5 separate regions of the Homo sapiens genome follow, and all the other regions are linked to region 1. Evidence: promoter capture Hi-C in human tissues and cell types (Jung and others, 2019). All regions are on one chromosome and are shown on one strand. Each heading gives the region's core, a stretch centred on a gene start or on the middle of the fragment in contact. The rest is flanking DNA. Distances are from core to core; before and after follow the strand shown.

Evidence for each region. Contacts are between HindIII fragments. The study calls those that stand out against the background at their distance.
Region 2: a fragment that was not itself captured here is called in contact with the fragment with the promoter of ENPP7 in region 1 in 3 of the 25 tissues and cell types used here (adrenal gland, dorsolateral prefrontal cortex and spleen).
Region 3: a fragment that was not itself captured here is called in contact with the fragment with the promoter of ENPP7 in region 1 in 1 of the 25 tissues and cell types used here (H1 embryonic stem cells).
Region 4: a fragment that was not itself captured here is called in contact with the fragment with the promoter of ENPP7 in region 1 in 2 of the 25 tissues and cell types used here (lymphoblastoid cells and stomach).
Region 5: a contact is called between a fragment that was not itself captured here and the fragment with the promoter of ENPP7 in region 1, in 2 of the 25 tissues and cell types used here (psoas muscle and spleen).

What each region holds. Positions count from the first base shown.
Region 1 is chr17:79,729,543-79,732,379 of GRCh38, forward strand. It overlaps ENPP7 (ectonucleotide pyrophosphatase/phosphodiesterase 7), which reads left to right and starts at 1,401. Exons shown (of 6, transcript NM_178543.5): 1 at 1,401-1,850. The coding sequence starts at 1,598. RefSeq lists an enhancer at 1-200. The HindIII fragment of the contact is 31,927 bases long and covers 1-2,837 here.
Region 2 is chr17:79,977,226-79,980,062 of GRCh38, forward strand. All of the region lies in intron 3 of TBC1D16 (TBC1 domain family member 16), which reads right to left. LOC124904073 (a long non-coding RNA gene) reads right to left here. Exons shown (of 2, transcript XR_007065930.1): 1 at 2,835-2,837; 2 at 1,777-2,303. Among named protein-coding and RNA genes, the nearest start is that of LINC01979, 52 kb to the left of the region's middle. RefSeq lists a silencer at 970-1,149. The HindIII fragment of the contact is 5,649 bases long and covers 1-2,837 here.
Region 3 is chr17:79,959,998-79,962,834 of GRCh38, forward strand. All of the region lies in intron 3 of TBC1D16 (TBC1 domain family member 16), which reads right to left. Among named protein-coding and RNA genes, the nearest start is that of LINC01979, 35 kb to the left of the region's middle. The HindIII fragment of the contact is 5,656 bases long and covers 1-2,837 here.
Region 4 is chr17:79,937,375-79,940,211 of GRCh38, forward strand. It overlaps TBC1D16 (TBC1 domain family member 16), which reads right to left. Exons shown (of 12, transcript NM_019020.4): 12 at 1-2,837. Among named protein-coding and RNA genes, the nearest start is that of LINC01979, 12 kb to the left of the region's middle. The HindIII fragment of the contact is 9,876 bases long and covers 1-2,837 here.
Region 5 is chr17:79,871,863-79,874,699 of GRCh38, forward strand. No RefSeq gene overlaps it. Among named protein-coding and RNA genes, the nearest start is that of CBX4, 34 kb to the left of the region's middle. The HindIII fragment of the contact is 6,412 bases long and covers 1-2,837 here.

The sequences.
Region 1 (2,837 bases), core at 151-2,650:
TGACAATACCTCCAACCATGCCCTTCCGTCTTCCCACCGCGCAATCCAGTGCACCACCTCCCACCATGCAATCCAGCGCACCACCTCCCAGCAAAACCTCCAGGATCCGCCTCAAACCCAGCCCCATCCCACAGCCACCACCCTGGTCCGGGCCACCAATAGCTCTTGCTCAGACACAGGCAGTCACCTCTCCAGGGAGCACCCAGTGTCCATTCTGCCCTCGTTCTGGTCTATCCTTCACCCACAAATGGAGAGTATATTTTAGCATTAGATCAGTTCATGTCACTCTCTTGCTTAAAACCCCCGCCTGGCTTCCACTGCCTGGCATGAGAATCACCGCCACCTGCCCTACGGGACTGGCCCTGCCACCCCTGCCACCTGCCCCATGCCCGCTCCCCTAGCTCATGGTCCCCCAGAGTCACTGGCCTCCACCATCCTCTCAGCGAAACCCCACCAGCCACCACTGCGTGCCGCCCACCCACCCCGCCAGCCTCTCCATCACGTCTTCCTGCCTTCCCTTCTTTTGGGAAACTCTTTTTTTCTTGTTTGTTCATTTTATCTTCTGTGTCCCCAACTCGAATGGAGGCCACGAGGAACATTGTCTGTCTCATTCACTTCTGTGTCCCCAGAACCTAGAACCATGCCTGGCACACAGAACGTGCTTAATAGGAACTGAGACAGAGACATACAGGGAAGGAAAGAGGGAGAGAGACAGAGAAAGAGAGAGAAAATAAGAGAAGGGGAAGGAGAGATGGGGGAGAGGGAGGGAGAACCGCACACTGAATCCAGGGGTTCCTCTCCCACCCTTCATGTGCCTATGGTAACAAGGGAGTCCCCCTCTTCTGACCCCTTGTTGTCATCAAGCAAGAACGTCCGAGCCCCAGGCACCCTCTGAAATTCCCAAGAAGGAAGCATCCCAAGAAGGAAGCATCCCAAGAAGGAAGGCCCACAGGACGCTGGTCTGGAGCCATCCGGTTCCCGGTCTGCTCACCACGCTCAAGGAGCCCCTTAACAGGACCAGGAGGAGAACAGGCACCCAGCCTGGGGTTCCCCCCGGACAAGGCCATGCTGTGACCCAGGCTTGGTCCTGGCCCTGACCATGGGAAGCCCACCCCACAGGCCCTCACCCAGGCAGGCCTGAGGCCCATGCACCACTAAAGGCCTGGAGAGGGGGTCCCACCCCAGCCTCACCTGGGTCCCCTGGGGTCAGGGTGAGCTGGGACAGAGGGACCACCTGTTGCTATGGGAGAGGGAGAGGGCACGACTTTCCCAGTGGAATGGGCTCCTGCTGTGCTCTGAGCCCTGGGTCACTGTCCCCACTCTGGGGAGGGAGGGGAGGAGCCTGGAGCACCAAGGGCGCGGCTGGCAATAAAGGCAGATGCTCAAGTTGATGCCACCCCACGCACGTGAGGCTGGGACCAGGGGTGGCACTGACACGGCTGGGGAGCCCACTCCCGAGGTTCGACCCGGGGATGTGCACAGCCACATTCCAAAGGCGCACGGGATGAGATCAGCCCGGGTGACCCTGGGACTTTGTCCTCCTCGGCAGGAGCCAGCCCTGTGCACCCTGTGTGCCTGTCCATCTGGAAGGCCCAGCATGAGAGGCCCGGCCGTCCTCCTCACTGTGGCTCTGGCCACGCTCCTGGCTCCCGGGGCCGGAGCACCGGTACAAAGTCAGGGCTCCCAGAACAAGCTGCTCCTGGTGTCCTTCGACGGCTTCCGCTGGAACTACGACCAGGACGTGGACACCCCCAACCTGGACGCCATGGCCCGAGACGGGGTGAAGGCACGCTACATGACCCCCGCCTTTGTCACCATGACCAGCCCCTGCCACTTCACCCTGGTCACCGGTGAGTACTGCCCTGTGACGGGGCCTGGGGGTGGGAGGGCCTGAGAAACCAGATGGCACAGAGCCGTGTCGTGCAGGATAAAGGGGAGAGGTCCTTGCTCCAGGCACAGGACAGAGCCAAGGGGACCATTAGGAATCCTCACCGTTGGTAGCAACAGATCCGGGACAAAGAAAAATGACCAGGGGGGTCCTTAAACCCGTGGCCACAGCCAGGGCAGCAACCCCAGAAGGCTTCAGGAGGAGGGGAGTGTGGCGGGCTCCCCGCTGGCTCCCATGGCTCCCCTCCCCTGCCCGCCCCTCCAGCTGGCTGTGTCAGCCTCTCCCTCTCCCTTCCATCCTTTCCATTTTCCACCCAACACCTCCCTGACAGATCTGCCCAGGCTGTAGACAATACAGACATAGGTTTTTAAAAAGCCAAATATGGGGCCAGGCTCAGTGGCCCACGCCTGTAATCCCAGCACTTTGAGAGGCTGAGGCGGGCGGATCACTGGAGGTCAGGAGTTCGAGACCTGCCTGGCCAACATGGCGAAACCCCATCTCTACTAAAAATACAAACATTAGCCAGGCATGATGGTGCATGCTTGTAATCCCAGCTACTTGGGAGGCTGAGACAGGAGAATTGCATGAACCCAGGAGGTGGAAGTTGCAGTGAGCTGAGATCGCACCACTGCACTCCAGCCTGGGTGACAAAGCAAGACTGCATATAATATATATATACATATATATATACATATATATATGTATATATATATATATATACACACACATATATATATATATGAGGCCAAGGCAGGAGGATTGCTGGAGTCCAGGAGGTAGAGGCTGCAGTGAGCTGCAATCACACCACTGCACTCCAGCCTGGGTGACAGAGCAAGACCCTGTGTCAAAAAAACAAACAATAATAAAATAATAAAAAGCCAAGTACCACAAAAAAGGTGTTAGAGAATTGAAAAGCAATTGGCCCTCCCTAGGGGCTCAGCCACCTCCC
Region 2 (2,837 bases), core at 185-2,684, 250 kb after region 1:
AAGAGAAGGGAAGATGCATGGAGCCCCGCCCCATCCCAGAGACGGCCCGGTGCACAGGGACGTGCAGGTCACACAGATTACAAGGCTGAGGAGGGGATGGGATGGGAAGGGGTCCGTGTGGAGCAGCAGCCTCCACCTCCGGGTCTCTGACTCCAACGAGGCAGAGACCACCTTCCCTGACGCCTCATCCCTCCACCTGGCCCCTTCCCAGCATCTGCAACCCACTGGTGTGTCTTGGTCCCCCAGGCAAGGGTGATGTCTCAGCCATCTCTGCAACCCTTGCCCCACAGGGCCTGGCACGCAGCAGGATGGGGGTGACGGAGGAGAGAGAGCTCTCCGCACCTTCCTTCCCCCACCTGTGAGACGGCGATGAGTTGGCTGGACGCTACGATCTCTAGGAACCCCATTAGGCTCTAAAATCCTGGCAGTTTCTAAAATGCACAGTAAGCTAACTGTTCCCAGCAAAACTGAAGCACGTCTGGCATAATTAGCATCACACACACATGTGCACACGGCGGTACTGGACTCATCCAGCCGAGAGGCTGGACTCTGCCAGCTTCCCGCTGACCACAGAGGCAGCCAGACCCAGCTCTGGAGTCTGCTCGCAGAGCCCAGCCGGCTGTGCACGGGAGGGCGATTGATGCGGCTGCCAGTTCGAAGAGGCAGAGCAATAAAGCCTCGGCGACTGCGGTGCCTTCTGCTGCCGGGGTGGGACCCCTAAGCTTTTCAGAGGCCTGGATGCTGAGGGGGGCCCACGGGAAGCTGGCTCTATTAGGCTCAAGCTGCCATTTCTGACATAAGTGGCAATGTTAAGTGATGGGCGCACAGCCGGCCGGATTCTGCCATCCCAGGCCTAGAACCTGCCCCATGGTCACGGTCGAGCTCGGGAGCGCCGACATCCCGCATGCACCGAGACAGCCTGGCTTTTCCAGCCAGAGGGACTGGGAGCAGCAAGGCCGGAAAATACAGGGCCAAGCGGGGCGGGGATGAATCGCAGCTCCTCGCGGCATGGGCGGCACACTCCCAGAGCCAGAGCTGCTGGGAACTGGGAAGGCAGGGTCTCCGCTCCGGCGATTAACTCTGCCGATCTGCAACATCACGGCTAATTAGGGAAGGTGTAAATCACTGGGAGGAAGCGGGCAGGCACATCCTTCAGGTTGATTACCAGCACGGTTTAGGAAAAGATAACCAGGCCCGGCCTTTCTTCTGTTCCTTTGCCAGCCGTGGGGGCGGGGTGGGGGCCGTGGCGGGCGGGCAACAATCCGCGGCAGGTAGGAGGAGAGAATGTACCAGGCCTTTGAGTGCTGTTTCTGTTTTAATTTTTTCTTAGTCATATGGAGTGACCTTGTGGATTTCCCAGGGAAATTAAGAAAAATTCCACTGAACAGATCTCACAGCTGTTACGAGTTTCTGAGCTTCCGTGGGTCCCGTGCATTTACGACTGTGACGACTTAGACTCAGGACGTGCACGTGATGCCGTACTGGGCTTTTTCCATTCAGCGTGATTACACGGTGTTATTCATTAAGGGCTGGAGACTCTGATGGCAGGAATCATTTGTTTTTCTTTTTCCCTTAAGGCATTTGCAAATATGCTTGGAGGCAAAGGGACGCTGGGTACATCTAATAAATAAAGCAAAATAATTAATAGCTCAAGCAGTCTAGAGACCACTCCCAGTTGCTCCTGAACCAGGCTTTTGAGAGCCAATCGTTCTGTTTTCATTCCCTCTCGACTTCGTCCTTGAAATACACATTACTGGGAAGAAAACAGCCAAGAGATTTTTCTGAACCCAAAAAGAATGTTTATTTTTTTTCCCCTAGATTTTATAGGAGCTTAACGTGGGCAAACCAATGAGATGATTCTAAACCAAAGCGCCCTCGTGGGCTCCACGCTCTCAGCCTGTCCATCAGCAGCACACCTGGGAGATTCTGCCCAACCTAGGGAAAGGAGGAGCCATAGGAGCTGGGCAGGGAAGGCCAGAGCACACACGCTCCGGGGACGCACACCCACGCCTAGAGCACACACGCTCCGGGGATGCACACCCACGCCCAGAGCACACGCGCTCCGGGGACGCACACCCACGCCCAGAGCACACACGCTCCAGGGATGCACACCCACGCCCTGGACCCCAGCAGAGGGATCAAGGGCTCAGGCATCCCCAGTGCCGCCAATCACGTGGCCCTCTCGAGGTGAAGCTGCGACACTGTGTGGAAACCCAGGGGAGATGGGAGAGGCCTGAAGCGGGAGGCGGGAGGACCGCATAGCTGCAAATGCATCTGGGCGTGAAGACGTCCCTGTGTCATCTCTGCAGGACCAAACAGTCAATTAGTATCCAAATACTTTTAGGGGACAGAAAGACGCTCACGGTTCCTGTCGCAGGTCCAGGTTATTCGGTGCCATAAAAAGGCACACGTCGACCTTCACTGTTTCCTGCAAACACAGCTGGGACATCAGCCCGGAAAGGAATGTAACCTGTCAGGCCGCAAATCCCACGGTTCTCACTAGGAGCAGGAAAGGACCCTGGTCTCCCTTCACATCCACCAAAAGCTCACCCTGACTAGAGAACCAAGCAGAGACTGAGGCCAGAGAATAACCAAGTAGCAAGGAGGGGAGGGGTCTTCACAGACAGAGGCCTTGCTATGGGTGGGCTCTGGCTTCCAGGTGGTGGGCTCTGCGGGCCAGAGCTTGGGGCGCAGGAGGCCAAGGTCCAGGTCCCAGACACATCCATTATGGCCAAACACAAGAAGCCCTCAGGCCTGCCCAACACGGCTGTGGGCACCGGTGCCTCCCCAGACCCTCTGGGCAGCCCATCCTTGCACCTGGAGGAGCAGCTCACCGT
Region 3 (2,837 bases), core at 152-2,651, 230 kb after region 1:
TTAAAATGAAATACTATTGTTACACAAAGGTTTCTTAGACCAGACACCAACATATGACCATAAGTGAAAAAAAAAATTAATCTTCATTAAAATGAAAACCTTCTACTCTTTAAGAGATATTGTTAAGAAAATAAAAAGATAAGCCACAGACTGGGAAAAAGATATTTGCCAAATGCTTATATGATAAAGGGCTTATCATATAAGTCAGTAATATGCTTTAAATCATCATTCTATACAGAATATAGAAAAGGTCCTCAAAACAGTAATAAGAAAACACAATCCAAACATGGGCAAAAGATTTGAAAAGACATTTCACCAAAGAGGATATTCAGATGGCCAAGAAGCCTATGAAAAGGTGCTCGACAGCATTCATTATTAGAGAAATGCAAATAGAAAGAAACCTCAATGCAATCTAAAGGAACATGATGTGATCCACTACACATCTATTGGAATGACTAAAAAACAAATGAATGAGGCCACGAGCAAGGCAGTTCAAGCTTGTAATCCCAGCATTTTGGGAAGCTGAGGCGGGTGGGTCACCTGAGCTCAGGAGTTCAAGACTAGCCTGGGCAACATGGCGAAATCCCGTTTCTGCTAAAAATACAAAAAATTAGTAGGCATCGCAGTGCACCTCTGTTATCCCAGCTACTCCAGAGGCTGAGGCAGGAGAATCACTTGAACCCTGGAGGCGAGGTTGCAGTGAGCCAACATCATGCCACTGCACTTCAGCCCGAGCGACAGAGTGAGACTCTGTCTCAAAAAAACCCAAAAAACAAAAACCCAAAAAAAAAAAAAAAAAAAAAAAAAAAAAACGAAGGAATGAAACTGACACTGTGAGTGCTGGCCAGGAGGCGAGCAACAGAACTCTCCTACAATGTGACGGGAAGTCAAATGACAGAACCACTCTGGAGAACTGTTTGGCAGTGTCTTATAAAGTCACACACACCCCTACCATATGACTCAGCAATGCCCCCTAGGTATTTACCCAAAATACATGGAAAATGTTCACACGAAATCTGTGTGTGAATGTTTATAGCAGTTTTATTCATCATTGCAGAAAACAGGAAATGACACAAACGTCTTTCAGCTGGTGAATGGCTAAACAAACAATGGTACATCTTAACAAGGGAATACATACGCCTCAGCAATAAAAAGGAGCAAACTGCTGATATGCATGACGATATGGAAGCATCTCAGTTGTATTATGTTAAGTGAAAGAAGCCAGACACAAAAGGCTACATGAGAAGATACTCAGCATCCTCTGTAGTCAGGAAAATGCAAATTAAAACCACAATGAGATACTCCTACTCACCTATTAGAATGGCTACAGTGGACAAGACTGATCATAGCAAGTGTTGCTGAGGACATGGAGGAACTGGAACTCTCACGGACTGCTGGTGGGAATGCAACACGGCAAACCACTTTAGGAAAGCAGTTCAGTAATTTCTTAAAAATTAAACACATGCCTGTTTCCAGTTATTCCATTCCCAAGTATTTACCAAGAGAAATAAAAACATATGTCCACGTGCAAAGACTTGCACATAAATGTGTGTAACAGCTTTATCTAAAATAGCTAAGAACTGGCCAGGCACAGTGGCTCACGCCTATAATCCCAGCACTTTGGGAGGCCGAGGCTGGTGGATCACCTGAGGTCAGGAGTTTGAGACCAGTGTGACCAACATGGTGAAACACTGTATCTACCAAAAATACAAAAAATCAGCCAGACGTGGTGGCGGGCGCCTATAATCCCAGCTACTCGGGAGGCTCAGGCAGGAGACTTGCTTGAACCCTGGAGGCAGAGGTTGCAGTGAGCCAAGATCACGAGACTGCGCTCCAGCCTAGGCAAGAAGAGCAAAACTCCATCTCAAAAAAATAAAAATAAAAATAATAAAATAAAATAGATAAGAACTGAAAACAACCCAGGGTTTATCAACAGCCAATGCAGTAATGAATCGTGGTCTGTACATACCATGGCATACTACTCAGCTGTAACACGCAGTAGCATGGACGCATGACAAAATTATTATGCTGATTGAAAGAAGCAGGACAAAAAACAAGCACATACTGCATGATCCCATTTACATAAAATTCTAGAAAAGGCAAACAAATCTAGAGTGATGCAAAGCAGATGCAACTTTTTTCCTTTTTCCAATTATTTTATTGTGTTAAAAAATACTTATCATCAAATTTACCATCTCAACCTATTTTTTTTTTTTTTTTTTTTTTTTTTTTGAGACAGAGTCATCTCACTCTGTTGGCCAGGCTACAGTGCAGTGGCAAGATCTTGGCTCACTGCAACCTCCACCTCCCGGACTCAAGCAATTCTCCTGCCTCAGCCTCCCAAGTATCTGGGATTACAGGTACCCGCCACCACGCCTGGCTAATTTTTGTATTTTTAGTAGAGATGGGGTTTCACCATGTTGGCCAGCTGGCCTCAAACTCCTGACCTCAGGTGATCCGCCCACCTTGCCTCCCAAAGTGCTGGGATTACAGGTGTGACCCACCACACCCGGCCCCATCTCAACCATTTTTAAATGTACAGTTCAGGTATTAAATATATTTCTAATATTGTACAATGATCATCACCTTCCATTTCCAGAACTCTTTTCATCTTGTAAAACAAAAGCTCTATACCTATTAAACAATAGCTTCCAGGCCAGGCGCGGTGGCTCATGCCTGTAATTCCAGCACTTTGGGAGGCTGAGGTGGGCAGGTCACTTGAGGTCAGGAGTTTGTGACCAGCCTGACCAACATGATGAAATCCCATCTCTACTAAAAATACAAAAATTAATGGTGGCTCATGCCTGTAACCCCAGCACTTTGGGAGGCCGAGGTGG
Region 4 (2,837 bases), core at 159-2,658, 210 kb after region 1:
AGCATCTTCATCTTGTCCTGATGCCCTGCCCACCCCCGCCGAGCTTCACACTGGGCTGCTATGGAAAACTGAAAGGTCAGAGGGTGGAGGTCCTCTCCCTCCTGGACATGGAAACCTCCCCCTGCCTGGCACTTCGGCTGGTCAGGAACAGTGGCTGCTCATGGAGCTGCCCTCCCACCTTCAGACCCTCCTCCTCCCCCGCAGGGGTGGGCTGGGGCCCTCCCTCCCTCTGTACTTGATCCATGACTTGTGAGTTCTGAGTCCTCAGGGCCGAGACTTGAGTCAGAACCTTCTGGAGCAGTACGCATTTCCCCTCTGCACCTGGTGAGGACACCAGGCTCCTCGCTTCCTCCCCAGATCTCTGAGTGCTCACCCGACCCCCCAACCCTGGCGGGACCTTCCAGGGCTGGCAAGCATCGAGCCTGACCACGTTGCCTCTTGGGTGCCAGCACGCCCACATCAAAGGTGTCCCCTCTTCCCAGAGGCCCTGAGCAACATCGGGCGACGCTGTCAGCAGACATTAGCAGCAGAGCTGCACCACGCATCAACTTTTAAGTATGCGCACACACGTACGCCAGCCAATAACATTAAGTGTCATTTTAAAAAATGGGTTAAATAAGCAGCATTGCTGAGGATGGCCGTGCAGGGCTGATTATCCCCTATTTGCACGTTCTGGCGGTGGGAAGGCTAGAAGTCTAATGACTGAATTATCGCCCTAATGCCTCTCGCTGGCTGGGAATAATCCCGGGGCAACAGCTGCCGCGGGGTTTTTGGCTGGTTTCCTCTAATTGCATCCAGATTAAGGGAGTTGTGGAGGGGCGGGGCTTCTCCATCCCCCGCGGAGCAGCGTCTCCTCCGCCAAGCCCTGAACACCCAGCTCATGGCTTCCGAGGTCCTGGCTGGTCCGAGAGGTGCAGACCTCACTGGGGTCCGGGCCAGCCCATGGGGAGCGTGAGGTGCGAGCAGTGCACGGTGGGGGTGGCACTTGGTGCAGAGATGCAGCTGATTGGTCCGGGTCAGGTCTTGGGGAGCAGCAGGGGTGAGAAGCTGTAGGGCCAGGAGACTCAGAAGGAATGCCTTCTACTAGGACCTTCCCAAGTGAGGGGAGCCCTGGACCTGTCTATCCTCTTCCTCCCTCCCAAACACAGCGGTTCAAAGGCACGAGGTATCTAGTGAAATGCTAGGACCAGGGACGCTATTCCCCTGGAGCAGGCGGGTGGGGAAGGAGTGCTCCAAAGCAGGCATTATTAGGACACAGACTCTCCAGAGTCCCAGTTGTTTAGCCCTCCAAATTCTCAGCCTACTGCCACCCGACTGTGCAGAGCGGACAATAAAGTGGCAGGCCTGTCCCCCACCCCTTAATGCTGAGCCCAGCCACGTGACTTGCTGTGGCCAAGGGGAGAGCTGCAGGTGTGGTGTCCACCAAGGCTTGGAAAGGCACTTGCTGTCTCTCCCTCCGTGCCTTTGGCTGTGCCATGGCTGGCCTGCAGGAGGGATGCAAGAGACCACAGAGCAGGGCCAGGTCCGACCTCTGCACCATGAGCATCCCCTGGGACTTAACAACCCACTGGCCCTAAACAAACAAGCCCAGCCTAGACCAGAAGAATCACCCTGCCCAGACTGCTGACTCCTGCCCTAGATCAGTGCTGACTGTTGCAGGCCACCGAGTGTTGGCGGATTTGTTACACAGTATTGCTGTGGCAATGGATATAACTGGTTTCTAGCGGAGGGTCAGGGCAGAAGCTCCAGCCACCTCCCTAGCCCAGAAAGGCAACCCTCTCTTCCCAGAAGCAACATGGATGAGAAGCCCACCCCATTCCCACCACAGGATCCCCCACTGCTAGACAGCAATGGTCGGTACCCCAGGATCTGGGCACTGATGGGGCTCCAGGACGGTCTCCTCAAAAGGCTCTTAGGCAGACAGACCTGGGAACTTGGAAGTACCTGCTGGACGACCTGGGTTCATGGAGAAAAGAGAAGCCGAGAAGGTGGAGGAGGCCGGTAAGTGGTGACCTCCGCTTTCCTGCTGAGGAACACTGCTTTGAAGTGGCATGGCCCAGCAGTGCCCACCCTCCAGGGAGAAAAGCTTTGAGTGGGAAGAAGCCTTCTATCCTGGTCCCCATGATGGTTCTCAGCACATCAAGGGTTTTTCTCCCCAGAAGGACGCGATGGAGGATTTCAGGAGGGATTTGGTCTCCTCGCTCAAGGAGTGGCTTTCTGTGCAAATGGCTCGACACTTCTAAGCTGGCTGGGAGTTCTCACAGCATAGATCGCACACCCTTTTCTGTCCATCTCTAAATCCCAGAAGGAGCAACTGATACACAATCTTTTGGAAGAGGGAGAGTCTGTTGGGAAGACCTCATTCCCACATAGAAGGCAGAGAGCCCTGAGTGCTGGCTCCTTCACTGTGGTCGCTCTCACGTCCGACCACCTGAGAAGCTGACTTACATATCTGAGTTCACAGGTCCTGAAGGGAAGTGGAAGAGTCTAACTATTTCCAGGTGTCCTTGTCTTGGTTGGTCAGCTAATACACTACCACGTCCCTGGGACAAAGCAGATCATTGTCAGAGGATCTTGCAAACACAAACACGCACGCACGTGTGCATGCATGCATGCACGCAGGGACACACGCACACATCGACCCATTCAAGCCCCAGCTGGTTGCTGTATTTGGTGGAGTTGACCTTAAACAACGCCAAGGAACCTCACGTAGAAGACCCCCAGCAAAGAAAAAGGCATCAGATGCTTCTCCAACAGCCTGAGGCTCAGGCTCCTGGGCAGACAGTTCCCTTCGTGTACCAGGAGGACGAAATGTTTAAACGGATAAACATTACAAG
Region 5 (2,837 bases), core at 159-2,658, 140 kb after region 1:
CTGGCTTAACACCTGGTGTCTGGTTCGAATAGAAACACCAGGATGCTGCTTGCAGGGAGCCGTTCTTGAACAGGCCTGGGTGGAATCTCAGATTCATATTTCTAAAACCTCCTCAGATTTGGGGACTTCTATGTGAAGTCTTTGCCGAAGTCCACACCCTGGAAGATGCAGGGAGGATGAAAACGTGCCCATCTGCCTCTGGCTTTTGATTCCAGCCCCACCACAGCACAGCTGCCTTCGAAAACACAGGGCAGGAGCTTTCTGCAGCAGTGGCTGGTGGGACAGACAGATGGACGGACACACACACACAGGCAGCAGAACTGGAGGTGAGGGCAGTCAGGAGGCAGTTATGGTTTGGTTCGGTTTCTTTCTTTTCTTTTTTTAAACACCAGCTTGAAAGCTTGAACTAGATTTTATTTATTTATTTATTTGAGACAATCTTGCTGTGTCACTCAGGCTGTAGTGCAGTGGCATGATCACGGCTCACTGCAGGCTTGACCTCCCAGGCTCAAGCGATTCTCCCACCTCAGCCTCCCGAGTAGCTGGGACCACAGGCATATGCCACCATACCCAGCTAATCCCTCCCCTCCCCTCTCCTCCCTTCCCCTCCCCTCCTGTCCCCTCCCCTCTCGTCTCTTTGTCTCCCTCCCCTCCCCTGCTTTCCCCTCCCCTCCCTCCCCTCCCCTGCTTTCCCCTCCTTTCCCATCCCCTTCCCTCTCCTCTCTTCTCTCTTTTCGAGACTGGGTCTCACTTTGTTGCTTCGGCTGGTGTCAAACTCTTGGGCTCAAGCAATCTGCTCACCTTGGCCTCCCAAAGTGCTGAGTAGGTTTTGTTTATTTTTTAAATTAACATTTTAATGTTGAGATAATTGTTTATTTACATGTTGTTGTTGTAAGAAATAATACAGAAGGATCTATGTCCCCTACCCAGAGTCCCACCCATGGTGGTGTCTTGTAAGACTAGAGTACAATGTTACAACCAAGACGTGGATATTGATCCGGTGAACCCATCTTACTGACGTTTCCCTTCTGCTTGTACCCATTTGTGTGTATTTCCTTTCTGTGACCTGTGTAGCTTCCTGTATCCACCACCGCAGTCACAACGCTGAACGCTGCGGCACCCCAAGGACGCCCTGGATCACTCTTTTGCAACTGGACCGACCTCCTTCCTCTTCCTAATCTGCCTCCAAGTCTCCAAGTCTGTTATTTCAAGAATCTTATGTGAACGGAATCATACACCTTGTAACCTTCTGGGAGTGGCTTTTTCCCTCAAAATCATTCCCTGGAGATTCCTGCAAGGTCTTGTGTGGCCCAGTCCGGGGTTCCTTTTCCCGATCCGTGACGTGGAGGCACGACAGCATGTTTAGCATTCGCCCACTGAAGGTCAACCAGGTGTTTCTGGTTTTTGGCTATTATGCATAAGCTGCTATGAACACTTGTATGCAGCTTCTTTTATTTTTTATTTTTATTTTTTAGAGACAGGGTCTTGCTCTGTCGCCCAGGCTGGAGTGTAGTGGCACAATCACAGCTCACTGTAGCCTCAAACTCCCAGGCTCAAGTGATCCTCCCCACTCAGCCTTCTGAGTAGCTGGGACTACAAGTGTGCACCACCACGCCCTGCTAATTTTTAAAGTTTTTTTATAGAGACAGGGTCTTGCTATGTTGCCTGGGCTGATCGCAAACTCCTGACTGAGTAATCCTCCCGCCTCGGCCTCCCAGGGTGTTGGGACTATAGGCGTAATCTACCACGCCCAGCCTTGTGTATAGGTTTTGATGTGAACAAAAGCTTCCATTTCTCTGGGATAAATGGCCAAGAGCACAGTTGCTGGGTCTTATGGCAATTGTGTGTTTAGTTTTATAAGAAACTGCCAAATTGTTTTCCAGAGGGGCTGCACCATGTGACAGGACCAGTAGCAGTTTCTTTTTCTTGTTTTTTTCTTTTTTTTTTTTTTCGAGACGGAGTTTTGCTCTGTCGCCGAGGCTGGAGTGCAATGGCACGATCTTGGCTCACTGCAACTTGTACCTCCTCAGTTCAAGCAACACTCCTGCCTCAGCCTCCCGAGTAGCTGGGATTATAGACACCCGCCATCATGCCCAGCTAATTTTTGTAGAGATAGGGTTTCACCATGTTGGCCAGGCTGGTTCCGAACTCCTGACCTCAGGTGATCCACCCGCCTTGGCCTCCCAGAGTGCTGGGATTACAGGCGTGAGCCACCACGCCTGGCCCCCGGTAGCATTTTCTGAGTGATCCTATTTCTGTGCATCCCCACCAGCATTTGGCGTTGCCACTATTTTTAATTTCTGATAGGTGTTGATGGTATCTCACTGTGGTTCTAATTTGCATTCCCCCCATGGCTCATGGTGTTGGACAGCTTTTCATGTGCTCACTTGCCATCTGTATATTCTCTTTGGTGAAATGTCACCATTGAATTTGAAGCGAGTTTCTTGTAAACAGTGTATGGTTAGGTTGTTTTTCAAAAAATAGACTGCCAATCTCTTGCTTTTTACTTGGTGTATTTCATTTACCTTTAAAGAAAATTATCAATATGTTAGGACTTAGGTCTGCCATTTAAGGATTTGTTTTCTCTGTGTATGTTTTCTTGCTTTTCTGTGGATTCCTTGAACATTAGGATTGAGGTTCATCTTGGTTGATTTATAGTCATCTAGAGGGCGTTTCTTTGTATCACTTCCCTAGTGGTCGCTCTGGTTATTACAAGGTACACGGGTAGCATTTTACCACCTGCAGTGAATGTGGAAGCCTTACTTCCATGTAGGTTCTTTAACCTGTCCCCCTTTTATTTTCATTTTATGTTATTTTTGAGACAGGGTCTCACTTTG